5 separate regions of the Homo sapiens genome follow, and all the other regions are linked to region 5. The links are contacts of gene promoters, found by promoter capture Hi-C in blood cells and fetal thymus (Javierre and others, 2016). All regions are on one chromosome and are shown on one strand. Each heading gives the region's core, a stretch centred on a gene start or on the middle of the fragment in contact. The rest is flanking DNA. Distances are from core to core; before and after follow the strand shown. Region 1 overlaps SLC9A2 (solute carrier family 9 member A2). Region 2 has its middle 61 kb from the start of IL1RL1. Region 3 holds the start of IL1RL1 (interleukin 1 receptor like 1). Region 4 overlaps SLC9A2 (solute carrier family 9 member A2). Region 5 holds the start of SLC9A4 (solute carrier family 9 member A4).

Region 1 (2,700 bases), core at 199-2,698, 160 kb before region 5:
TCTTTGATTTTACTCACAGATATGTTTTCTGAAACTCCTGGCCTCAAGCAATTCTCCTGCCTTGGCCTCCCAAAATGTTGGGATTACAGGCATAAGCCACTGCGCCCAGACTCACAGACACATTTTTAAAGAAAGTGCATCTCCACACTTGATCAAAAGGCTGAGAAGCAGTGGAAAGTGCCTCTCTTTAGTGAGCATAAGGAACACTTTCATTCAAGACATCAATAATTGCCAGGACCATAACTGATGTACCCACAGAGTTTACCTTTCACAGACGATGAACTCATTGTGTGACTTAACACAGTGCCTCCTGAGTGCAATCCCAGCTCAGCTTCCCTTTGGCTTGTGCTTCTTATTCAAGGTGGGAAGCATAAACCCCTTTCCCTTAGATATTCCATAGTGTCCTTCCCACATTTGTCAATGGTCAGAGTATGTCAACCATTTCTATTTATTTGTCTTTTTGTAACATGATCAATTTCTGAGAATAATACTCATTTTGATCAGTGTTAACTTGACTATAAAACATATTCCAACTGATCCTGAGTCCCTAAGTGTCCCACATAATCAGCTCAGCCCTTTTAAATATACCCAGGTATAAAGACAAGAAGCAAAATTTCATGTAACATGAAAAGTCTGAAGCAGAGTTTGCAAGCTTGCAGGCCACGAGCCACCATGGCCTTCACGCCTATTTTGTTGGGCCTATCTAGTGGGTTCAAAGATTGAGCTCATATTGAGAAACTGAGAGGATCCACATGTAAATTCTTCTGTCCAAGTTATCTTGGAAAATCAGCAAAACTGGGCTTTTGTCACCCATCTTATGCCAATTTCTGCAAAGTGGCCATCAGCTGGAGCTTGGGCAGGGCAAGAGCTGGCTGTCCAGCTTGCTCCCCGTAACCCCTCCCATCTCTCAGGGCATGAAGAGGCACCAACAGGGCCCACACTGACAGCTACATGTCTATCTTTTTAGACTCCTTCCTTCTAGTCTCAACCACAGCAATGAGAACACAACTTAGGCAGAGATTCCATGAATTAGGTAACAGATTTCCCATCCTTTAAGCAGATGAGTGAGGGACCATCTCCTCACGGGCCAGGGGTGCCTCCCTGTCCCAGCTGGGGCACTGCAGTTGGTTTTTATCAATGGGGTGAGATCTCTGGCAGGTCCAGTACAGCACACAGAGCTGGTGAAGTTCACTTCTGCAGGTAGGTGGCTCTGCTGCCCTGGGAGTCTCTTTTTCACTGGAGGCAGCTGAATCCTACTCTGATACCCAAGCCAGGGTTGGGCGCAGGATTTGACTCATGCCCTGGTCACCTCACTGCCTGCATTATATTCTTTCTGTAACCCACACCACACCCACTGGACAGCTCGGAAATGATCACTGGCTTAGTTGTGCTGGCACTGCAACTGTGCCCCAGGAAATAATAACGATGGCACTGGCCAGTTTTCAAAGTATTTCAGCATGTATTCTATCTGGGTGTGAAACTTGTGTCTCCCAAGCTGAGAAAAGGACTCTACAGATGGCAAGGGAATTTCTCATACAGCCAGGTGGGAAACAGGATCCTCGCTATTAAATACTGAGAGCTGCCCTTGGACATGCGGAGTATTCTTATTTAGAAAACTCTGGGACTCCAGTTTCCTGTGAGGAACGGCAGGTGAAGCAGTCACAGAGCTTGCTCTCAGTCTGTTAGGACTGCAGGTATAGGTCTCACAGCTATGAAACAGATTCAACGGATCTTCGGTGATTCCACCCATCTTTAACTTTTTCATCTCCTCAAGGCTCTAAGCCCTCCACTTTTTCTTTTTCTTTTCTTCCTTTCTTCCAACCCTCCCATTTTAGAAACACAATCTGATGAAGGGGTTTGACCAAGGAAGGACTCAATTTGAAGAGATCATTCTGAAGGTAAAACTTGCCAGTGCCTAGACAGTGTTTAGGAGGAGTTACAGAGTCCAAGGGGTTGACAAGTTCTAGTGACTATTTCTGAACAGATCCTTTGCACAGCTTAGTTAAGCTGGGGGAAGGGCCACTAGGGCGTGCCAGTGCTGATAAAGACTCTGGTACACTATAACCTAGAGTCAGAACTTCCCATGCCAGCCAGCAGTTGAAAGCAATTTTTATTCTACTGCCCCAGGCTAGATGTTAAATCTTAGGATTTATCGTTCTCTCAACTCATGTGTTAGTAAACGATTTATGCCAATTTTGGCTTTGCTGTTTGCACACTGCTATCATTAAGCCATATAAAGCTTTCCAGGGACTCTACCCCACCCACCTAACCGCCTTGTGTGGGAACCATATTTTCTGTTTTCTGGTTTCTTTTCCTTCAAGAGCTTGCCTTCTAAGCAAATTTACCACTTGCTCAAAATACGTAGATCAAAGTATAGTGAAGGAACCCACAATTGCCAGTAATTGCTACCTGATTTCATTTTTCAATTAAGTGGTTGCTAACACTTAACTGCATTCACCAGTTATTTACATGGCAGGGAAATATTTGCACACTGTTGGCTCAGGCTAAACTAAGAAACTATCCCATTTGGTAAAAGACTGTATTTTCCAAGCTTGCTAGAATACTATCCCTTTCATTCCCTTTCCCTCCTCCCTGACTTCTGTTACCAAGTTGGTGGTCTTTGTCTTCCCATTTGCTTATGGTTGCAAAAATCAAAGGGGTTTCAATGAGTATGTATTGGGATGTGTATTTTAAAGATTC
Region 2 (2,700 bases), core at 62-2,561, 220 kb after region 5:
CCCCTGCAGGACCCCGTCCAGACATGCAGGAGAGGCAAGGCGCTGGTGCGCGCTTGGGGCATTTTGCCTTCCCTCCTACCTGCCCTCTCCTGACCCAAGTTCTAGCCCCACCTGCTTTGTCACCACCGCCAGCCTATGGAAGTTCCCTCTCTGGTCCTTCCTGTCCCATGGGTAAAATGGACCTAGCATGTCTAATTGCGCATGTTCCCGCAGTGATGTGAAGGACTGAAGGGCTTTGAACGCTGCGCTGTCTTAAGGGAAGGTGCCTGGGGCACTGACTTCGTCCCCTTTTCCCAGATCCTGCTCAGAGCCGCTCCCCCAGGCCCCCGGCCTCTAACTGTATCCTAGCCCTCTGATCAGCCTTTGCCTACTGAGGGCAAAACTACAGGGTACAAGAATAGGGGTTGCTATGTCCCCCCATTTCCTTTGTCTTCCATTTCCCCGTTCGCTCCTAAACCCTGAGACGGGGCCCTGTGCCAACTCGCGAGGGGCTCCCGGCTTCACGGGGGGCGCAGGTCACAAAGCACGTTCCGCCCTGGAACGCCCTGAGGAGATAAAAGCCGCGCAGGCCCCGCGCTCGCCGCGCACTCCGACCGTTCCGACGAGGGAGCTTTGCACTCGCTGAAAATGACTCGAAAGCTGCCCCGCCTCTCCGCCTCCCAACCCCGGCGCCCGCTCGGCGCCACCCCGCAGCTCCCTGGCAGTCGGCTCTTCTTTCCTCCCATCCGTCCCCCGTTTCTGGACCCGCAGACTACGCTCCTGTTCCAGCCCACCTACTCGTCCTTCTGCCCCATCTGCTACCCGTCTCTGAACCAATTCGTCCCCGTCCACTACCCCGTCTTGGGCATCGCCCTGCCGAGCTCTTCCTGCCTGAATCTTCATAAGATCTGCATCTGCCGCCCTCATGTCCGTTGGGGCCCCAACTTCCACTACGTCCCTCCCTATCCCCCCACGCCCCCGCCCAGCCCCTGCTTTTAGAAGCTGCCTACAGCCCGCCCCCGCCCAGCCACCCACGCGGCCCTGACGATCCACGACCCCACGGAGGGGCCCCTGCAGGCACCGTGCTCGGGCAGCGAAGGAGCGGACCCTAGGGTCCCCGCGGCCTGGCTGTGGACACGGGGACGCAGGACCACGGACACCCACCCTCGGCCTCCGCTGCCTGCTCAGCCAGCCGCGCCAGCCTCTGCATTTGGCAATGGCTTCCCCGTGGGCCTTGGTCTGGAACCACGGAGCAAACTGCAGGCCCGAGACAGAGAAGGGAGAGCACGAGGAAGCAGCGCCTCTGCTCGCTGGGAGAGAAACGACTGGCCAAGGTGAGGCCTAACCACATGCCCATGACCTCCGGGTCTGTCCCGTGACAGGAAGCCCTTTCCTGGAGGTGTCCACGGGCGGTTGGGGTAAGGGCTGGGTCGCCAGGAGCTGGGGCTGTGGGAGTGCTGTAGCCTGGAGACCGTGTGGGACACCGTTGCCTGGAGAAGGCAGAAGCCCGGGGCCAGGGAGAGAGGCACAAGGGAGCAGAGAGCGCATCGAACCCGATGGAGCAATGCCAAGGCCATGGCGGGACACCCCAGGGAGAAGGTGATCCAGGATGAGGTCCGTCAGAACCAGATCTTGCAGGAGCTGTACCTCAAAGGGCTACCAGCCCAGAACGTCTATGCGCGGTATCACGTGAACCCCTCCACGAGGTCCACAGATCACCAGGAAGCCCATGTCTTGGCATGGTAACCTGGAGGAGCCTGGAGACGCCAGGTTTCGGAATCTCATTCACCACGCTGCCCAGGGACCAAGGAAGAGGGACCCAGACACAGACCGAAAACCAGGAAAGTGCATGGGACTCAGTGCCCCCCCCTCAACCCAGAATGCCCAGATTGCAGGCTGAACCACTGCAGGGTCTGCAATGACATCGCTCTGTACAAGGCTCAGATGTGGAGCCTGGGAGGAGATGATGGCCACCAGTGGCATCCCAGCAGTGGACTGAGGCGCCGGATTTCATGCCTTAAGTGTGCACTGCCCCCAAAAATAAATTTTTTATGTTACTTTTGAGCCATTGTATAATTTATACCCAAACACACTTATGATAGGAACCCCAAACCTAGTATGGCTTTTTAATCTCTTTTCCAAGGAGAGAAACTTACATGATTTCATAGAAAAATTCACATTGCTACAGTGATATCAATCAGAAAGAAGTCTGCAGGAAAAGACTAACATATTGAGGCTTGTATTTGTTAGGATTATTTCCATTGTGAGAAACAGAAACCAAATTTAAGCAGAAATGAGAAATAGTTAACTCCTAAACTTCAGAGTTCCAAGGAATTCAGGCATGACAGGATCCAGGGACTCAAACAATGTCACAGATCTCTCTTGGTCTCTCTTTCCTTCTCTGATTCTGCTTATCTCTTGACTCTTCACTTTTGACATGATTCATTCTTGACGCTAACAAAATCTATCCTTGTGGAAGGAAAGACTGCTACCAGCAAAGCTATACCCACATTTCAGAGACAGAGTAGGAGAGGGAGCAAGAGAGAGACAATTTTTCCCACCTAATCCAGCTGAAAAGAATCTCCGAGGATTTAGGTTCATCTATCCTGTGTTGCAAAGCTGCCTACAAACTGTGCAAGCTGTACCATGTTAGGGTTGACCAAGCCTGGGCATGGACTCACAGGAGCCAAATGCACACAGGAAGCTTCCTAGTGGAATCAA
Region 3 (2,755 bases), core at 157-2,656, 160 kb after region 5:
CAGGATCTAGTAGGAGAACTGTTATAGCCAGACAGAAACATGCCTCCGATTTCCTTATGCCTGGAAGAAATTAAAGGAAAAACTGACATTCAGTGGATAAAGCTTTGGGGGCCAGTTCTGCTATGTTTACCTCTGCACCCTCTGTTGAAGTAGCCTTCAGAGAGAAGAAGAATGGAGCCACCAAGCAGAGGATCAAAGCAGGCACCCGCAACAAACTTGAACTTACATCAGTCATTCACTCCCCACCCCTCCAGAAACAATGGCCCTCACTCAAGAGGGCCTTCTCATATCCTCATATCCACCCCTCTCATGTCCGTTCTCTATTTTCTTCTTGCAGATGGGTATGACCCTGCTTCCTCACCCCTTTTGGCCAGCAGCTTCTTGCTTCATTTGTTTTGTTTTTTTCCTTCATCTCCATCTGAGTAGATTACACTGCTGGATTTTGTGGATTTCAGAAAGAATAACTCCAGAATATGAGCACTCTGTGTGTATACTATAAAGCTCCCATCCTTTCTTACCCTCAACCAGGTCTTTTCCAACACGTTGGACCAAAGTCCCATATTACACAAACAAGATTTCAAGGGATTTCATCAATCTGTACCATGATTTTCCCATTGGTAATACTACTTTTCTCACAAGCAAAATTGATAACAATGATTATTATTGTTATAATGTTATATATATTACATTATATATTATATTATAGGCCCTTCATTTGCATAAGGCACCAAAACACAATTAAACTCCTTTAAATTTAATTCAGCTAAAGTTTTTCTTTTAACAGAAGATTGTTTGGAAAGCTAAGTCTTCCCTCTGTCATTGAGTGAATGTTTTCCTCAATATAAATATAATATTATATATATTATATTTAATATATAATAATGTTATAACATTATAACAATAATGTTATATATATTATATATATAATATTTAATATATAATATATATTATATATAATATATATAAATATATTATATATAATATATATTATATATAATATTATATATAATATATATTATATATAATATTATATATAATATATATTATATAATAAAATATATAACATATATGATATATTATATATTATATTATATAATATATATTATATAATTATATTATATATTACAATTATATAATATATATTATATAATTGTATTATATATAATATATAATTGTTATAATGTTATAACAATTATATATTATATATATTATATATTATTATAACATATAATGTTATAATAATATAACAATGAATATTATTGTTATAATGACCTAAATTCGTATGTGAAAATTTTGTTCCCTTTGAGATAAAAGTATTTTTGAAAAATACCCCAAAGCCACTTACCCTCATTGGGTTGTACTTGAGTTCTTTCTTCCTCAACTTTCTGCCCACAGTTTCACAACTCAGAAAGCCAATTTCTCTTACAGCTTTATAGCTTTACTAAATACAACAGCCAGCCTCTCTTTAAAAACCTCCCATTTTCTTTATCAGTTAAGAGACAGGAACCAGGTTACTGATAAGCTGAACCCGATGATCACACTGTTAACAAATGTTAACTGCAGTTTTCACCACATTCTCCCTATTTGAAAGATCTTTAATGAAGTTCTATTTCCAATTTTTACCTTATCTCTATAGATAGTTACATTTTGTCTTAACTATATTTTGCCTTCTTCATGAGTGACTTTCTCAGCAAAACCTCCCTAACACCATGTAGGTGGCAGGTCACTCATTTCCCTTAACGCGAGTTGGTAGTTGTAACTTCCCTATAGTCACATTTCTAGAACAAGAGTACCCATTTCTGCAGCAAGTTGCTTATTTGGTGTTTCTTTCTTTTTTTTTTTTTTTTTTTTTTGAGGCAAAGCCTCACTGTGTCACCCAGGCTGGAGTGCAGTGGCACAATATCAGCTCACTCTGCAGCAAGTTTTGTAACTGATGCCTCGTTGGCAATGTTTTTGAAAACTTTGACACATCTCGTGTGCTTAAGTGTACACCAGGCTCTGTGTGCAGTAATTTGGTATGTGCTATCCCACGCAATCCTCAGAAGCTGACAGGAGCTTCAGAGAGGAGAATTACCTTACCCAAGGTAGCAGCCAGTACAAGGGAAATCCAGGATCCAAAGTGTCTATACCTGGGCTTTTTCCACATGCCCGAGATGGCCTATCTCAGGTGGTTGTAATAGAGATTTATGGACATGTGCTGCAATTATTAGAATTCTGGATAAACTAACCTTAATTATCTATGCAATTTCTAAAAATATTGGTGACTTTCAAATAATCAGGATGTGCCATCTGCCAGAGTCTTCCCTAATATAATAGAGCATGAGATTTAGGGAGAGCACAGCCTAGTTTTCCTCTTCCCAGCTGCTTGACTTTGGGCAAATTCTCTAACCTCTCTCTCGTGTGAAGGGTATTGTTGTCAATATTAAATCAGTAACCTATGGAGGATGCTATCCATATTGATGAAATACTAGTGATTTTCTGCTCTATCATATACCCATCCTATCACACCCAGCACAATTGTGTTTAAAATAAAAACAAACCTTCTGGCAGGGCATGGTAGCTCACGCCTGTAATCCCAACATCCTGGCCAACATGGTGAAACCCCGTCTCTACTAAAATACAAAAATTTGCTGCGTGTGATGGTGCACACCTCTAATCCAAGCTACTCAGGAGGCTGAGGCACGAGAATTGCTTGAACCCGGGAGTCAAAGGTTGCAGTGAGCCAAGACTGCACCACGGTGCTCCAGCCTTGGTG
Region 4 (2,700 bases), core at 29-2,528, 220 kb before region 5:
ATGTCACCTTCATTCCCCTGGCTGCGCAGTCAAAAACACATGGAACTGTCTTATACTGCTCTTCTTCTCATATCCTAAACTTTTCACCTACATTGTTCCATCTTAAAAAAGCCTGATCATCTTGCTCGTTTTATTGTAGGATTGTTGTAAAGTATTCTAAATTCTATGGAACCCCACCTAATAATGGCATATGTTAATGAAATATAAAGATGGTGTCCTTTTTAAACAGTACATATATAAAAATATGACCATTTATTTGACAAATGAAGGCACATTTGAGGGTCTTCACAAGGTCTATAAAATAGTGAGCATCATCATTCCAGTTGGAGAGGCTAAATCAGCAAAGATTCATGTAATTGCTGGGAGAGGCTACCCCACCATGGGCCCTAAGCACCCCAACATGTTCTTGCAGGGGATGCCAAGAATGTCAGGCCTTGATGACTTTTTTACCTGGAGCATTTCTTAGGGTTGCAAGCAATGAGCACTCTTGAGAAATGAAGTAAGGTCACCCTTCTGAGAGAGCAATATATCCCCAAACTCAAATATATCCCCCTCCTGCAATACAGCCCATGACATGGGCAGACATCCATCGCGGGTCCCTTGTGTCACCCCCATGGGACAAGGAGGTGTGGAAAACTGACACAAACCAACACAAGGCTGTGGCTACAGCTCTTGTCATGGACAATAAAGTCCTTTGTCTCTGACTCAGGAGTCTTCTGTAGCATTCATGAAATAGTAACAGGCGAACTTGTTAGCTTACAAGTATAATAAAACCCCAGATGCTTCGCAGTTCTGCACCGTGACTTAACCTAAGTTACATCACTAATGTGCAAAAGAGGCTGCTATCTCTTGAATTTTGGTTAACTTTCCCACTTGATGGACTTCTAGATAACCACTTAGTACGTTTACAGAATTCTTGAGATCTGCCCCTTTTTATTATAGGGATTAACTACATAATAATTATTGTATTCTAATCATTTTTCCTTCCAAAGAAAAATATATTGAAAGAACTTACCTTTTTCTTTCTTTCGTTACAAGTTTTCTTTCTTTTTTTGTTTGTTTGTTTGTTTTGAGACAGAGTCTTGCTCTGTCGCCAGGCTGGAGTGCAGTGGCAAAATCTCGGCTCACTGCAACCTCTGACTCCCTGGTTCAAGCGATTCTCCTGCCTCAGCCTCCCGAGTAGCTGGGATTATAGGCACGTGCCACCATGCCCAGCTAATTTTTGTAGTTTTAGTAGAGACAGGGTTTCACCATGTTGGCCAGAATGGTCTTGATCTCCTGACCTCGTGATCCACCCGCCTTGGCCTCCCAAAGTGCTGGAATTACAGGCGTGAGCCACTGCACATGGCCTCGTTATAATTTTTCTTAATGTAGTATATTAAACATGGCAACTCGTGAGGCAAAAACCCTGTGTCAGGTGTCATACTCTATACACATATTTCCCCTGAGCTGCCTGGAGCATTGTCTAGATTTTACAGCTAAGTAAACTGAGGCCCACAGAGGCTGCAAAAAGCAGGCTTAGAGTATCAACCCACAATAGTCTTACTCTAAAACTGCACTTTATGTAACTGTATTTCACCCTCCCCAATTTTGAATATAATTTACATGTATGAGAAATAGCTTATATTTGATATAAATAACATTACCAATCATATTGGAAAAAAATGAACTCAAATGTCCAAGGAATCAGAATTGTTTCCTCATTCAATATTCCACGGCCGGGCATGGTGGTGCTCGCGCTTGTAATCCCAGCTCTTTGGGAGGCCAAGGTGGGTGCATTACTTGAGGCCAGGAATTCAAGACCAGCCTGGCGAACACAGCGAAACCGCATCTCTACTAAAAATATAAAAATTAGCTGGGCGTGATGGTGGATTTCTGTAATCCCAGCTACTCAGGGAGGCTGAGGCAGGAGAATCGCTGGAACCTAGGAGGCAGAGGTTGCAGTGAGCCAAGATCGTGCCACTGCACTCCAGCCTAGGTGACAGAGTGACACTCTGTCTCAAAAAAAAAAAAATTCCCCAAACAGCACCATATTCTGACAACATGATAGTGTGCCTCATAAAGGGACTACATCGCTTGCTAAGAAGCAACACGATTCAAACAATGTGAAAATTCTCATGATAAACTATGATATCAAATAATGCATCATACATCATGTGAAATCCTATTTTTGAAGATAGTTATAACTCAGTAGTACCAGGTTGGAAGAGCTTATCATATAAAATATTGAAATAAGGGGAGAAAAACATATTTAAAGTTTAGTAATTGGTCCATCAACATAAAAGTCATCGTTTGAAAAAGAATACATAATTCTTACTTGAAAGGCAATATTTTATGCATGGATGTATAATTAGTTATTCCTGCTATATTTATATCTCATCAAGTATTTCCCTCCAGGCTTCCTTCACTGAATTCCTTAATTATTGATGTATTCTGGAAAAGATATCTTTTCTGAAGGGAGTATGTGTGTATTTGTGTGTGTGGGTGCATGCACGCTTGTGCACGTGTGTGTGTTCAGAGTATCTTAAGAACCAGTGGTAGGTAGGAGAATAGGAGGAAGAGGAAGTGGTCAGAGTCATGGAACCAAGCAATATGCACGCAGTCTCCGATCTGTGCACACAGAAGGGTAGGCAGAGAAAAGGAAAAAGAAGATATCAACACAAGTGGAACCGCAGCAATTTCTCTTCTCTGTGGATATCC
Region 5 (2,726 bases), core at 33-2,532:
GTTTTCTTGTTTTTTGCTTTCTGTCAATTTGCAAGAAGCACACGCTACTTTTAAAGAATAAACAATGGGGTGATTGATGAAGCCCACAATTACACAGCCAAGAATATTTTACAGAAGAAACATTATGTGTTTCCTGAAATTTCCACCTTGCATCATGCCCAGGTCTACGTGCTTTATTCTCTATATTTTTAAAGCATAGAATTTGAGAGTTTTGCATGTCAACAATGTCACATGGTTGTCACCCTGAAATGAGAAGAAACCAACACAGCCCAGTACCCAGAAGTATGCTCTCAAATTTCAAAGAGCAATCTCAAAGTATTAAATAGCTTAGTAAAATGCAGTTATGACTTTCCCTTGACTGAAGGGAAGAGAATTTTTAATGTAATAGCAGTAACAGTTAAAATCCTCTTAGCCCGTTATCTATAAGGCATTTTCACATTCACTATCTTATGTAAAAAGATAACTCACCAAACCAGGTGTTTAAGGACTTACCTATTTTTGCAAGGGATGCTAGAAGTATCCAGAGAGTGACCTCATAAGGAATTTGCACATAGTCATAATCCAGTTCAAAAACAGATATCCCTTCCTCTGGCTCTGAGCTGGCAGCAGCAAACCAAGCGTTAGATGCATACTGAGCAGTGGAATTTGCAGATTCATTCAAATCAGAAGATGCTTCAGAACACTCAAGAGCCACTAGCAGTAGCAAACAATTCCAAGGACTGTAAGTCACGAACATCTGCAGAGCCATTCCTGTGGGCTTCTCCTACCTACACCCCTGTGTGGATGTGTGCCACACATCTGAAGTCGGGGAGGCTTCTAGAGAGTGACTGCATCCACCTGGGTCAAAAGTAATATAGGTACAGTCTGTGGGTCCTCCCAAGAAGATTCCGAGTGTGTTATTGAGCTCTGTATGTAGACACTTTCTAATCTGGTTTAAATCGTTTGTGTTCAGGCAACTCAGCTTCCAACTCAAATGCAGTTATTCAATAGACTTGTTAAAGTCCATGGAGCTACCTGGAGGACCTCCATCCAATCATGGCTTGAGCAATTTATGAAAGAAATAAAAATCTCTTCACTTAAAGGCATTTCCTCATTTCACTGCATACTGGCTTTGTCTTGTGGGTGAAAATTTAAAAGGATACTGTAGTGCTCATTCCACAGATCACTGGAGTCCTTCTAATGAGGAAAGGAAACCTTCCCTGTCTATCAGATCCCAAGAAGGAGCTACCTGATCTGCGCTTGTTCCTTCTCTCCTCCCCCTGTCCTCTCATTTGTTTTGAATGACCACGGCTTCAGGTAGCTCTGGAACTACACTTAATTATTTGCTTTGATTTGACTTTTGTAATGAAATCCTTTCTCTGAGGGTTCTCTGGAGGTCACACTGCTGACACCTAGTGGGCACCTGCAATACAACACCCTTGACACTTTCAGTTATGAACGTTAAGGTGACCATGAAATTATCTAAACCAGGACACTTTGGGGAATGAATAATAATGATAATTATGCAAAGCTATAGGCACAAACCAGAATTGTCCAGCAAACTGTCTTATATGGTCTCTATACATGAGGAAGAAGGAGGATAAGAAGGAGGTGGTAACAACAAGGATGGTAGCAAACACTGAAACTTTTGCATGTTACCAGACTCCATGAGCAGTCATTCATAGAAGGAATGAAGTTCCAGATCTCTATGAACTTTACACTATAATTTTTAAAAAACAGGAAGCCAAAGAACAAGTTCCATAAATACACCTAAATACCTGGATTTGTAAAACTCCATGGCACATCCAGATTTTCCATTTAAAAAACATTTGTTGTTGTTAAAAAGAAGCAGCATCATAGAATGTTGATGAAAGAATTTTGAGATAATTTTTATGAGCCTACTTCTCGCTCTTCTACTTGTTGCCAGGTGACCTTGGTGAAGTTAATTACCTTTCAGAAATTCCTTATCTGAAACAGAGAGGAAAATATCTGCCTCATTGAGTAGCTAGGAACATTAAATGAGATAAAGCAAGTAAAGAATTTGGCATGTAGTTGGCACTTAAATGTTAGTTTTTATTTTAAATTACATTTCTTATACTTTTAGGATAAGATACAACACTTTTGCAATGATTACTGATACTCAGTAAAAAATGAGAATAATACATCATCCATATACTACCCCAACATCTCTTTTACATCAAACTGCAAGATGCTTTGTGTTTTGTTTTTTCTTAGTTCATATTAGTGAGTGCAGGGGATTTCCCCCCAGCCAACACACACACACACACACACACACACACACACACACACACACACACACTCAGCTAACATCACTGGGAAATTGAGAAAGGAATGGTTGAGAAGGGCTAACACCTAGATGCAAATTCATAGTGAGGCAATAGAATTAAAAGTTCACATATGAATATTTTTTCTTTTTCCTTCAGTTTGACTCCAGAATAGATTAGATTCAGTCACTGAAATGAGACTATCAGGTGGACTACAAGAAGGGTACACATATTGAGTCGATTATTTTTTCTCAAAGAATATATGAATATCCTTTAATAGAAAGCTGCTTTATAATAGGTGTTTTATTTTTATTTGCATTTTATTGTACTTTTCTTTCTAAAAAGAAATGAGGGAGCAAGTCTCACATAGTGCCTTGTGGAAAGACCAAAATGAAGAATCAAAAGACTTATGTACTCAGACATTAGTTATCTGATTGGCTTTGGAAAATTACCTGTTTGAGC

The links. The method cuts DNA at HindIII sites, captures the fragments that hold promoters and counts their contacts. A CHiCAGO score of 5 or more calls a contact.
Region 1: a contact is called between a fragment that was not itself captured here and the fragment with the promoter of SLC9A4 in region 5, in 1 of 17 cell types (endothelial precursors). The highest score is 5.2, in endothelial precursors.
Region 2: a fragment that was not itself captured here is called in contact with the fragment with the promoter of SLC9A4 in region 5 in 2 of 17 cell types (M1 macrophages and M0 macrophages); the score reaches 6.2 in M1 macrophages.
Region 3: a contact is called between the fragment with the promoter of IL1RL1 here and the fragment with the promoter of SLC9A4 in region 5, in 4 of 17 cell types (activated CD4 T cells, neutrophils, naive CD8 T cells and 1 more). The highest score is 7.7, in activated CD4 T cells.
Region 4: a contact is called between a fragment that was not itself captured here and the fragment with the promoter of SLC9A4 in region 5, in 1 of 17 cell types (M2 macrophages). The highest score is 5.3, in M2 macrophages.

Annotation. Positions count from the first base shown.
Region 1 is chr2:102,636,124-102,638,823 of GRCh38, reverse strand. All of the region lies in intron 1 of SLC9A2 (solute carrier family 9 member A2), which reads right to left. Among named protein-coding and RNA genes, the nearest start is that of SLC9A2, 18 kb to the right of the region's middle. The HindIII fragment of the contact is 1,587 bases long and covers 655-2,241 here.
Region 2 is chr2:102,249,110-102,251,809 of GRCh38, reverse strand. It overlaps the pseudogene CFAP144P2. Among named protein-coding and RNA genes, the nearest start is that of IL1RL1, 61 kb to the left of the region's middle. RefSeq lists an enhancer at 554-1,147. The HindIII fragment of the contact is 2,748 bases long and covers 1-2,685 here.
Region 3 is chr2:102,310,214-102,312,968 of GRCh38, reverse strand. It overlaps IL1RL1 (interleukin 1 receptor like 1), which reads right to left and starts at 1,406. Exons shown (of 11, transcript NM_016232.5): 1 at 1,346-1,406. The HindIII fragment of the contact is 5,145 bases long and covers 105-2,755 here.
Region 4 is chr2:102,687,098-102,689,797 of GRCh38, reverse strand. The region is part of intron 5 of SLC9A2 (solute carrier family 9 member A2); the gene reads right to left. Among named protein-coding and RNA genes, the nearest start is that of SLC67A2, 48 kb to the left of the region's middle. The HindIII fragment of the contact is 6,337 bases long and covers 1-2,700 here.
Region 5 is chr2:102,471,782-102,474,507 of GRCh38, reverse strand. SLC9A4 (solute carrier family 9 member A4) reads right to left here and starts at 1,282. Exons shown (of 12, transcript NM_001011552.4): 1 at 493-1,282. The coding sequence starts at 748. The HindIII fragment of the contact is 5,984 bases long and covers 1-2,726 here.